2 separate regions of the Homo sapiens genome follow, and region 1 is linked to region 2. Evidence: promoter capture Hi-C in 16 types of primary human blood cells and fetal thymus (Javierre and others, 2016). All regions are on one chromosome and are shown on one strand. The core of a region is centred on a gene start or on the middle of the fragment in contact, and the rest is flanking DNA. Distances in the headings are between cores, read along the strand shown. Region 1 has its middle 250 kb from the start of C4orf33. Region 2 holds the start of PGRMC2 (progesterone receptor membrane component 2).

Region 1 (5,690 bases), core at 2,806-5,305, 1.1 Mb before region 2:
ACTTTCAAATGCAGAAGGGCTGTGTCTGTGCTTCACATTCAGCTGCCTTCTCCTTTCCTCTTATGAATTACATTTAAATGAATTATGGCACAACAAGACCTGCCAAGCCTAAACCTAGGAGTGTGTGAATGAGAGCACCCCATAAGTAATAAGCGATCAGAGCCGCCAGCAGGGCGCATGGCACCCAGGGCCCTGCACTCCACACTGTCTTCCCAGTGCTGACAGGAAAATCTTGTGCCAGGAAGAATCCATCTCTTCGGAAGACAAGAAGATCCTAGAACTAGTAGTAGCAAGAGTCTACTGCAATGAGGAATGGGGGAGGCAGAGCACAGACATTCCTCTTTACTGTGTGCAGCCAGTAAATCTAGTTGTAAAGACAAGTAAACTTGAGTGGTGGGAGAAATGTTCTCCATCTGAAAGTCCCGGGGGCTCAGTAAATGTTTCCTTATTAATAATAGTTTAGAGACGAAGCCTTTTAACTTAGGAACTTTTAGGAGTCATTTAGGGCATAATATATTAAAGAATGCTACGACATTAAAAGTAATATAAATAAAGGAAATGTAGTCTGCGTAAAGATCATTTGGATAATTATTTCATCTCTTTGCATCCATAATTTTGAAATAAAATATAGTCTTTCCTCACTTCATCTGCAATAAATCATTTACAAAAAGTAAGTGGCTTCACAAATAAATGACTGTATCTATGACTACTCTCCCAAAATCAATAATACATTTATTGATAATTCTGCATTTAAAGGTTCATTTCACCTTAGTATTGACATTCTGTCTCCCCTGCCATTTCATTAGATTTAAAATTTTTCATTCTTGGTAATGAACTGTAAGAAAGTTATATGTTAGAAAGTGGCCCCATTTCAGAGCTGGGCAATGCAACTCAATATATCATTTTCTATTAATTACCACAGTCAGTAAAGTTTCTTGTTTGTGTGCTCAGCAAAATTAAAGTTAGGAGTTTTTGGCTTCATTTTGTAAGCCAAGATTCCCTGACTTGTCCTTAAATACACCACTTCGCTGCTCTATAAAATAGAGCAATATATTAAAAACACACTTCCTCTGAGCCTTCAGATGAGACTTGAGTTAGTTCAACACATTCTTTTGAGTACTACAAAGTGACATTTGGGTGGAGAACTACCAGCGATTCAGACCCAAAATGTAACACCTGCCTTTGAGAAGCTTACAAATGAATGAGACAGCAGATAAATAAACAGAAAATCTCAAGGTGAAGCAGGAAGCTCTAGTCTCTAGGTTTGTAAATGGGTAAATGCGGCATGGAAGACGGGTGTTAGCTCAGAGGGGTAATTTGCGGAATGCTGCATTGATGAGATGACATTTAAACAAAGTGTTAACTTTTTTAACATTAAGATTTCATGACGGAATGTAAAACATAAATGAACACGTCTAACTGCATCAACTCACTAAGCAATTTAATAAAATCATTCCTACAATAATGTAGCACGTGACCTTTTGTGAAACTCTATTTGGGAGCATAATTACGTGGATGAGCCAAAGTCCAATCGCAACACAAAGTCAATGCACAACCTCAGAGGAAATAACACAACCGGGGGAATACATAAGTTTTCATCTCCACCTTATATTAATGCTGTGATCCCATTAAAAAAAAAGTTACAATAATTTTAGACGCTAGCGTAGGCTGGATTAGAAAAGCGGAGTTTTACTGCCATCTCCTGGCAGTACTCGATGATGGCTGTCAGTAAAATGATACTGGATTCTACCTGCAGGCTCAGGCAAAATAGTACAGACAGAAGCGGAAATGCTTATCGTTAGCTGTTTTATTAGAAAGTATACATTTAAAACTCATTTCCGATGAAATGAATTTTCTGAAACTTTATTTCATCTTATTCTGATCGGATAAAAAACTTAATGCTTTTTTTTTTTAGTAAGTTTTAAACTGGTAACCCCAGAACTGAAGAAATTCTTTATTCACATCTCTTGAATTTGTTATATATACCTTGTTATTTCCAACACAATTGAATAAGATACACTTTAGGGAAAAGACTGTATTTTCCATCAGATTTTCAATTAGCTGAAACAAGATATTGTTTGCACTTGAATGAAGTAGGCTACAATATATTTCATATGTTGTCAAACGAAATATTTAAATGTCTTCTCTTTGTCTTGGTTTGAGAGCAGATTTTATGGCACCAAGTCCATGCACCAAATTTGTGCTTCTCCAACTCTCCCTGAGGCCTTTCCTTAACTACAAAACCATTTACGGCAAAAAAAAAAAAATTAACGAAACCAATCGTTCCATTACTTGCTAGCTTTCATTATATACTGAAACATCTATTCAGCATTTGTATCTGCTAATGCAACAGAAACTCATCTGCTCAATGAGATTTATCACTTTTTTTTTACATGTTCACAAGATATTGCTGTACATTTTGCAATGGGTCTTTATTACCTAGTAATGATGCCTTGCAAATTAAATTAGTTTTTAATGGCATAGTTAAATTCTAATTTATGTTTCGGAGCTTTGTTTAATTCATTTAGTTATAATGTAATCGTTTTCTTGCTATTTTCTTACATTGCATAGAAAGAACAAAAGAATAGGGGTTCATCTCATCACATTCAGTTGTCTTGGCTTTATTAAATCTTGTCAATAATTGCATTTCCCCCAAGAAAGTTTCAAAACAGTTGCAGTCCAATTCTTCGGGGAGAAAAAAAAAGAAAAGAAAAAACCTCTCTGGCTCTCTGGTTGCTCAGCAGTCTGTATAAGGAAGTTGAATCAAACTATTACTGTAACTCCAAGGGTTGGTTAGATATTGCCCTTCCTCATGCTCATTATAACCCTACCGTGCCATGTAATGTATTGGGCAATTATTCTTTTGCAATAAATTCCTTTCCTGTGAGCTCTTTCTTTCCTGAACATTCAGGAAAACTGAAACCAAAAGTGATCATTAGCAGCACAGAAAGTAATCTTTTATAATGTCTACTTGCATTTTCTTCCCTCTCAATCGACAGGTCTTTCACAGACCTGACTGCAATAACCTTTTATAATGCCTTTTCACTAGGGTCCACGCTGCAGGAGCAAAAAAGACCTTAGCAAGTTTCACGGTTTTAAGCCAGAAACTGAGTTATGGAGTTGCATGGGAATAATTAATATCATTTAAAATTTATTGAGCCGGTTTGACCCTACCTTGGTGTTGGTAGTTTTTTCAGGAGAACTAAAGCACACAGGGGGCATTTTAATGAGGACTATTTGCAACACAGGCTGTTTAAGTTTCCATCCAAACAAGGACAGTTTTCAGGCCCATTCTTCCTTTTCTTCCAATGAGAAGAGAAATTTCATATTCTGGAGAATTCTCCCATTCCAATTTTAATGTGTGCATATCTTCCTGAATGTCGTTTCTCCCGACTTCTGGGTACAACATGCAGATGACCCAGGTGAGAAAGTCACAGTTCGTGGTTTTCTCCTGGTTGCATGGATTCCACTCCTCACCCTGACCACCATCTTTTAAACTCCTGATCTTGATGACCAAAAAGATCAGTAAACCATTTTCTTCTTCTGGAAAAGCAATTTGCCACACCAGTCCTACCAGCTAGGAAGCAGGAGTGACAACTTCAAAATGAAAGCAACATTAAAAGGAATAACTTTTCATATTTCTTACAAGGATAAAACAAGAATATGTGATGTTTGGGTGAGAAGGAGATTGACTGTTCAGCACATACCTTTATTACTCTTTTAAGTTTTTCTCTGTGCATGCTCGACTTTTTCAAAAGCTTGCTAAAATATAACAAGGTGATATAAGCATGTGATACTACTCCTGATTTTAATTCTATTTAATATTATACCTGTTAAACGATGAGAAAAAGATAAACTAGGACACCAAGATTCCTTTTACATGAAATAATATTTCTGTAAGAAACTAATGAAGAATAAAAGCCGCCTTAATATTAATCCCCTATTTCTCTGAACTTTCTTGTCTTAAAATTTACTGTTGACAAAGACTAGCACAATATCCACAGTGTGGATCCAAGATTATAAATTGATCCTTAAGATTCACTTATGAAGGAGACACATCTGCACTGAAGTGAGCTTAGAAATAAAAGAGCATTTGTAGAAAAAGTAATTTGCTTCGAAGCTCAGCCCTGCTCTCAGCCACTCATACACTCCTGTCCATTGCCTAGGAGCAATGTGCTGAGAGTTGAATTTGGCTCACAGTCAATAGCCTCTTTCTTTAGCCTCCCAGGTGTTACATAACACACCTTGCTTTCTGCCTAATTCTCCCCTGAAGTTATCCTCTTCTTTTCCTAATATTGTAGTTCACACTGATGGAGATATTGTTAGAATCTCAGAGGAGGAATGAAAGCTTTTAGGACATGGTTCAAATAAAAATGTTGTTGATTGTGAAGGCAATTTTCTTTAAATATAGAATTTTCTTATTTGTTTATTTCCACTCAAAGTAACTGTGACCTGTAAAATAGAAGCATTCATGAATTAGTTGACTTATGAGTAATCCTTATCCCCACATCCAAACAACGGGGGGTCTCTAAGCTCTTGCCAGTAACACAGCAGCCATTGGAGAACCCAGAACTCTATAGATTTCTGCCCTTCTGCAGCTTCCCAGTTGCTCACTGTTATGGGTTGAATTGTGTTTCCCAAAAAGATATGTCGAAGTCCTAACCCTCAGTATTTGAGAATGTCACCATATTTGGAAATAGGGTCATTGCAGATATAATTTGTTAAGATTAGATGATACTGTAGTAAGAGAGGTCCTTAACCCAGTATGGCTAACATCCTTCTAAGATGCAGCACATGGGGGAAAAGGTCAAGTGATGACAGAGGTAGAAGGTGAGTGATGAAGCTGCCAGCCAAGGAATGCCAAGGATTGATGGCCACCACCAGAAGGCAGGAAGAGGCAAGGTAGGATTCTACCCAGAACCTCAGAGGGAGCCCACATGGCCCTGCTGACACTTTGATTTTGAACATCTAGTTTCCAGAACCATGAGAAAATACATTTCTGTTGTGTTAAGCCCTCACAGTTTGTGCTATTTGGTATGGCAGCCCTAGGAAACTAATAAACCTGCCCACCTACTAGCCTCGCCATGTCCCCAAATCAACCCTAGTAACAACCACTTCCACTTCCCAGGGGTCTATGGGGCTCAGAAGTAATTATGAGGGTTATGGATCCAGGCAATGTATTTTATTCATATTTCAGGTACACTGGATTCCAAAGACTTTCATGACAAGCCCACCATCAAATTATAACACTCTTAATGAGGACATGGTTTTAAATTCCAAATACTTTTCATAAAATGAATTTTTAGAACATAATCTGTTTAAGTAAGATTTACCTATTCAGAGAAGTTGTATTGTTTTTAATACACCTTAAGTTTTGCCATGAAATATTATGCAGCCGTAAAAAAGAATGAGATCATGTTCTTTGCAGGGACATGAATGGAGGGCTAGAGGCCATTATCCTTATCAAACTAAGACAAGAATAGAAAACCAGATACCACATGTTCTCACTTATAAATGGGAGCTGGATGATGAGAACACATGGACACATGGACACACAGAGGGGAGCAACACACATTGGGGCCTTTCAGAGAGTGGAAGGTGGGAGGAGGGAGAAGATTGAGAAAAACAACTAATGGGAACTAGGCTTAATACCTGGATGATGAAATAATCTGTACAACAAACCCCCATGA
Region 2 (5,518 bases), core at 1,998-4,497:
AAAAAAGCTAACAACAGGAGAAAAGAATGTACATGACGATTCTTGTAGATGTCCTCTAGGCAAAGCAGGGATGTAAGAGGAAAAGGAGGGTAGAAAGAAGTCAAAAATAAAAAAAATAAAAAAGCATCCGCAGGGAAAAAGTAGAAATCTTGGGATCTAAAGGACAGTTTCAATAACAGAATAGTCAAGAAGAGCATAAAATAAAAGGCCAAAATGGGTGGTACAGGTAAGGAACACACAGAAATTCAAAGAAGGTAGGTTAATGTGGGCTGATAGAGGCCTCAGGTGGAAGTAGAATTGAAAGAATGGATAGGTCATGGAATTTGTATGGTTAGAAATAAGAAGGGCATGCTCCGTGAGGAAACAGCATGAGTCAAGTCCTAGACTGTGCAATACACATAGCATATATGGGGCAAGGGACTAGGTATTGTAAGGGGAAACGTATCATTTAATAGAGGGTATCCAAGGGATTGTTTGCTGGGGAACGGGAAGGCAGGGAAGCCACTCAGGGACTTATGGAGGCCCTTGAGTGCTTTCTGAGTTGTCCTCTTCAAATTACAGAGCACCCCTGGAGATTGGTGTCTGAGCAAAGGAAATCAGAACACAGTTCTAGTCTCTTCGTGTAGGAATGAAATAGGAAAAGACTGACGGCAAGTCACCAATTGGAAAGTTATTGCAGTACTCAAAGCAAGAGTATCCTATTGGGACAAGAGCTTGTTACTTAGGGTGGAAAATAAGAACTTCCAACTAGTCCAGTTCAAGGGGCTTACAATGAGAATCAAAAAAGCTGGGGTTTTGGGAAGGCTTCAAGTGTGAAGAAGTCGAGACACTATTTTATCAAGGATATAAAGGAAAACTTTTTTACTTCACGTGGCAGCCAATGTTGGTTAGCTACCCAACATTCCCCAGCCCACTTCCTTGACAGCAGAACTTTAATACTGTCCAATTCCTCTCTTCCCTCCAAACCAACTGGAAAAGAAACCTACACACACTAATTCAGCCCCAAGGTAAATCCTGAGGGTCTAAGCTACTGGTTCTCAACCAGTACCACACCTCTGGGGGGTGGGAGGGAAAAACGGTTGATTTACGGTGTCACAATGCCTGAGGTGTGGTACTGACATTTAGCTGGAAGGAACCAGAGATGGTAAATGTCCAGCAATGCTCAACACAGTCCTGAATAAGAATTAAAAAAGCCAGATAAACACTAGGCAATCATGGATGTCCCATGCTCCTTGTCTGTTACTGCTTTAGGGACAGCTAATAGCCCAGTTCTGGTCAATAAGATATAAGGAGTGGCCTGCTTCTGGGGTGCTTTCTTCCTTCCTATCAATGTTGTCTCAACTGTATACAGCTCTTGGGACTGCTACAGCTATCTTCTCCTCAAAACCAGTTTCTTCTTTATCTTCCTATTTCCATCACTGGCACCTCCCATTTTCTGTTACCAAGTCCTAAAGCAATTTTGACTTCTCCTAACCCTTAACCTTAAGGTGACTATTCCTTTAGGTTTGCCTGGGATAAAACTGATATAACTCCTGGTCTCTGGCTATAATTATTAATGCCCTACTTTACTTCCAAAAGTGTTCCATATTGAAGGATAGAGTATATGGTCATTTACTACCAATTGTGTCGCTCTCCCTCAGGTACCTCTAATGCAGGGCTCAGCAATATGGCTTATAAGTTGTTTTTGCACCTCTCCAGAACTAAAAAAAAAAAAATTTACATATTTCAATGATTTTCTTAAAAATCAAAAGAATATTTCATACCTGAAATTATATTAAAAATTCAATGTCCATAGTTTTACTGAAGACAGCTACACTCATTCAAGTATTGTCTATGGCTGCTTTCTCGTTACAAGGTAGAGCTGAGTAGTTAAGGCAGAGACTTAAAATATGATCGGGCCCTTTACAAAAAATGTTTGCCAACCCCTGCTCTAATGTCTCCCCTAGCTCTGAGTCTCCTCACCTCACGCACAAATACCCTAGCCTACTAACTGCTTTCCCACTCTTTCCCCAGCCTCTAATCCTTCAGACACCTGGTTGCTATACAGCCTCTCTACAAGAGTGTCGACCCTGTCACTTGCCTCGTCAATATCCTCAGTGACTCCTACAAAACCGACAGTGAAAGGTTCAAACCTATTCTATGAGACTCAAGACAACAGACAACAAAGGGCAAGAGAGAACACGTCAAACGAGTTCGTCAAACGAGTTGAGTGCGTGAGACTTCAGAGGTCACTTTTTCACACTAGAATTTCAAGGTGTGAGAGGCTAAAAGACGTCCAAGTACATGAAACAGAACCTGCAAATAAGAGTGAATGACGAATAGAAAGACCACCTCAACCTGTCCACTTCCCTACGGCCGCAGAAGTTATGATTCAAGGAATAATGAGACTCTAAATCCTTTAAAATTCTACAAGAGCAGCCTTTGCCAAACCCAGCGGGGAGTGGCTGCTCGGTGCCAGCGCGAGGAGCACGTAGACTGCCGATGCCAGAGAAGCCCGGTGCGGGTTCCGTGCTTTCTCTCCGTTCCAGGAAGACCCCAGCTCGTGGCCAAATCTTCTTGCCGCTTCCCGGTCTGCGCGCCTACGCTGCCGGTTTCCCGACAAAAGCGACGGCGCCCTGGTGAAAAGCAGACGCCCCTCATCGGTTTGCGCCTTGCAGCTCAACTATGCCCCAGCCTCCCACAAGCCACCTGCCCGCGTCCTCCGCCAGGCGTCCAGCCCGGACCTGCCCCCGCGGCCGCCAAGGCGCACGTGAAGCTCCCGGGCGGGGGGAGCGCAAGGAGGCGGGAGTTTGCGGACGCGAACGCAGGCCTAGGAAGGGAAGCGATTCCAGGGCGCACGCGCAGAGCCTGGAGACTGGGCGGGGCGTGCCTCCCGCAGGGGTTACGAACGAAAGGCGAGCGCGTGGCGCTCAGGAGCCCGCGCACGCGCTGTGGTCTCGCCCCGCCCATGAGCGTCCGCGCGGCCGTCGTAGCATCTTTTCTTCAGACCCGCCCGGCTCGTCTACTTAACCTAGCGGAGGCTTGGAGTGAGAGCAGGGAAGTGTGGGGCGAGGTGGGCGGGGCGTTGCACGCGTGCGCGGCCAGCGAAAGAAGGGAGGGGGCGGGAGATCCGAGACAACGTTACCCCGTCAACACCCAATCAGGAGCCGGCCTGACCCCGCCCCCTCTTCTCACGTTATTGGCTGAGAGGCCCCCAGATGGGCGGGGCCGGCCGTGGGGTTGGGGAGGGCAGGGGGCGGGGAGGAGGAGGAAGGCGCTGGCGGGCAGTGATGGCGGCTGGTGATGGGGACGTGAAGCTAGGCACCCTGGGGAGTGGCAGCGAGAGCAGCAACGACGGCGGCAGCGAGAGTCCAGGCGACGCGGGAGCGGCAGCGGAAGGGGGAGGCTGGGCGGCGGCGGCGTTGGCGCTTCTGACGGGGGGCGGGGAAATGCTGCTGAACGTGGCGCTGGTGGCTCTGGTGCTGCTGGGGGCCTACCGGCTGTGGGTGCGCTGGGGGCGGCGGGGTCTGGGGGCCGGGGCCGGGGCGGGCGAGGAGAGCCCCGCCACCTCTCTGCCTCGCATGAAGAAGCGGGACTTCAGCTTGGAGCAGCTGCGCCAGTACGACGGCTCCCGCAACCCGCGCATCCTGCTCGCGGTCAATGGGAAAGTCTTCGACGTGACCAAAGGCAGCAAGTTCTACGGCCCGGGTGAGGAGTTGGAAGGGGAGGGGAAGGACCCCCTGCAGCTGAAGCACAACCCCCTTCGGACAGGGAGGCCTCTGGGCACCGGGTTAGTTTGCCCAGCCTTCTCGTCTCCGGGACCCCCGCGCCTCGGCCGCCGCACCTGGGACGGCCCATCCCGCCCCTACACACACACCGTCCCCCCGCAGCTACGGGCACCTCCAGTTCTTCCCCCGAAACCAGGGTCCCCGGTGGCGCCCCAGAGACCAGCTCTCAGCATTCATCTTTCTTCCATCCCATTTCTCCTCGCAGCCTTTTTTTTTTGTTTCTTTGGCTGGATTTTTCAAAATCGTTTTAGTTGTCACAGGTCAACGCTGGCCCTTAACCTTTTTTGAGTCTCCTGATTCCTGGGATGGATGGGGCACCAGGGAAGGGAGATTTCTGAAGTTGGGACCTAAACTAAAGTTTTGGGCTCTGTAATTCACCGTTTTCTTTTCCTTGCCCCCTTTTTTTTTTTTTTTGCCACTGATCTCCTTTTTTCCCTCGCTGTATTACTCCGTAAGGCCACGTTTAGGGGCATGTAAAGTCCCAACCCTCCAGTCTCTGAAGTCCAGACGTATAAGCAACACCTCGGACTCTCTTTAAACCAGTTTTAGTTCGGAGTTGCTTTCCATGATTAACAAGGTATGTGGGATGAGAACAGACCAGAATGCAGAGCTTATTAAAGACTGGTAAGGATATTCACCTTGAGTTTTGGGGGTGGAGCTCCTATACCCAGCAGGCGTGTCTCTGGTTTCTTTTTTCTTTTTTTTTCTCTTTTCAAGTACACGTTGATAATGACTTGTGTTTTCACTTAGCAGAACTAAGGAGAAAAAACTTAGAAGAGTTGTAGATTTATACCCCCATGTGCCAGTTATGCAAGTTAAAGATTTTTAGAACTTTGTTTTGAGAGAACTTTGTTTTCAGGGAACTTTGTGTAGGGTAGTTGATTTAGACGCCCTTTTTTTACAGTGTGGTTGTAGCATACATTTTGGATTATGTTAATAAACCCCAGACTCATGGAACCTGTTGGTATATCATACAGTTGAGCAACATTGTGCATCCTGGTTGTGCACTGATTAATACTAAGCTTTAAAAAAAAGTGGTGACTACAATAAGAATAAATAATTAAATTAGAGACCTAAAGTGACCTGTTATTGGAGAGAGTACCTCCAAGCCTTAAAGTCATAGGGTTGGCAGTCTGGAAGTAAGCTGGTTTTCTCCTTAATTTAATCTGTAGGTGTATAAGATTTATTGACACTTAAAAATATATACTTCTGATTTCAGTGCTTGATAGCTGGAAGATATTTTAGAAGTGCTTTGGTTTGTAGTTTGTTCATTGGAATAGGGATAAGAAATAGGAGATTTTTGGTGTTGAATTATGTAATTTATTTCTTAGTTGTTTGTACTTCTGTGTATATATACACATTTAATCCAACCAAGTAAATACATAGCTTACAGAGTTTTTGCTTCTGGTTACATAAATGTGAACACAAGGTGTCTGCCTACTTATATCAACTGAAATGGTTAATACATTTTTGTTTACTTAAGCACACGTGGGACAAGAGAACAGGGCCAAAGTACAGTATTTAAACAGGCCAAGCGAAGTAAATTTTTTTTAAATCAAGGATTTAGACAGCATTTTATACCTAGTTCAAGCTTTTCCCCCATTGGTATTAAAATGTGTTAAGTGATTAGAAATCCTGTACAGGTTTAAATTTTTAATATAGACCTTACCCAGCTAAAAGATCAGCTTTTGTACCCTGTCTGAACTGCCACTGAAGAAAACAAAGTATTAGTACAAAGAATCGTATTAGTC

What was found. The method cuts DNA at HindIII sites, captures the fragments that hold promoters and counts their contacts. A CHiCAGO score of 5 or more calls a contact.
Region 1: a fragment that was not itself captured here is called in contact with the fragment with the promoter of PGRMC2 in region 2 in 2 of 17 cell types (monocytes and M1 macrophages); the score reaches 7.4 in monocytes.

The regions. Positions count from the first base shown.
Region 1 is chr4:129,340,177-129,345,866 of GRCh38, reverse strand. No RefSeq gene overlaps it. Among named protein-coding and RNA genes, the nearest start is that of C4orf33, 250 kb to the right of the region's middle. The HindIII fragment of the contact is 590 bases long and covers 3,761-4,350 here.
Region 2 is chr4:128,285,542-128,291,059 of GRCh38, reverse strand. It overlaps PGRMC2 (progesterone receptor membrane component 2), which reads left to right and starts at 3,247. Exons shown (of 3, transcript NM_006320.6): 1 at 3,247-3,687. The coding sequence starts at 3,270. RefSeq lists silencers at 1,952-2,246, 2,618-2,807, 3,128-3,307, 3,318-3,367, 3,548-3,607. The HindIII fragment of the contact is 4,970 bases long and covers 1-4,791 here.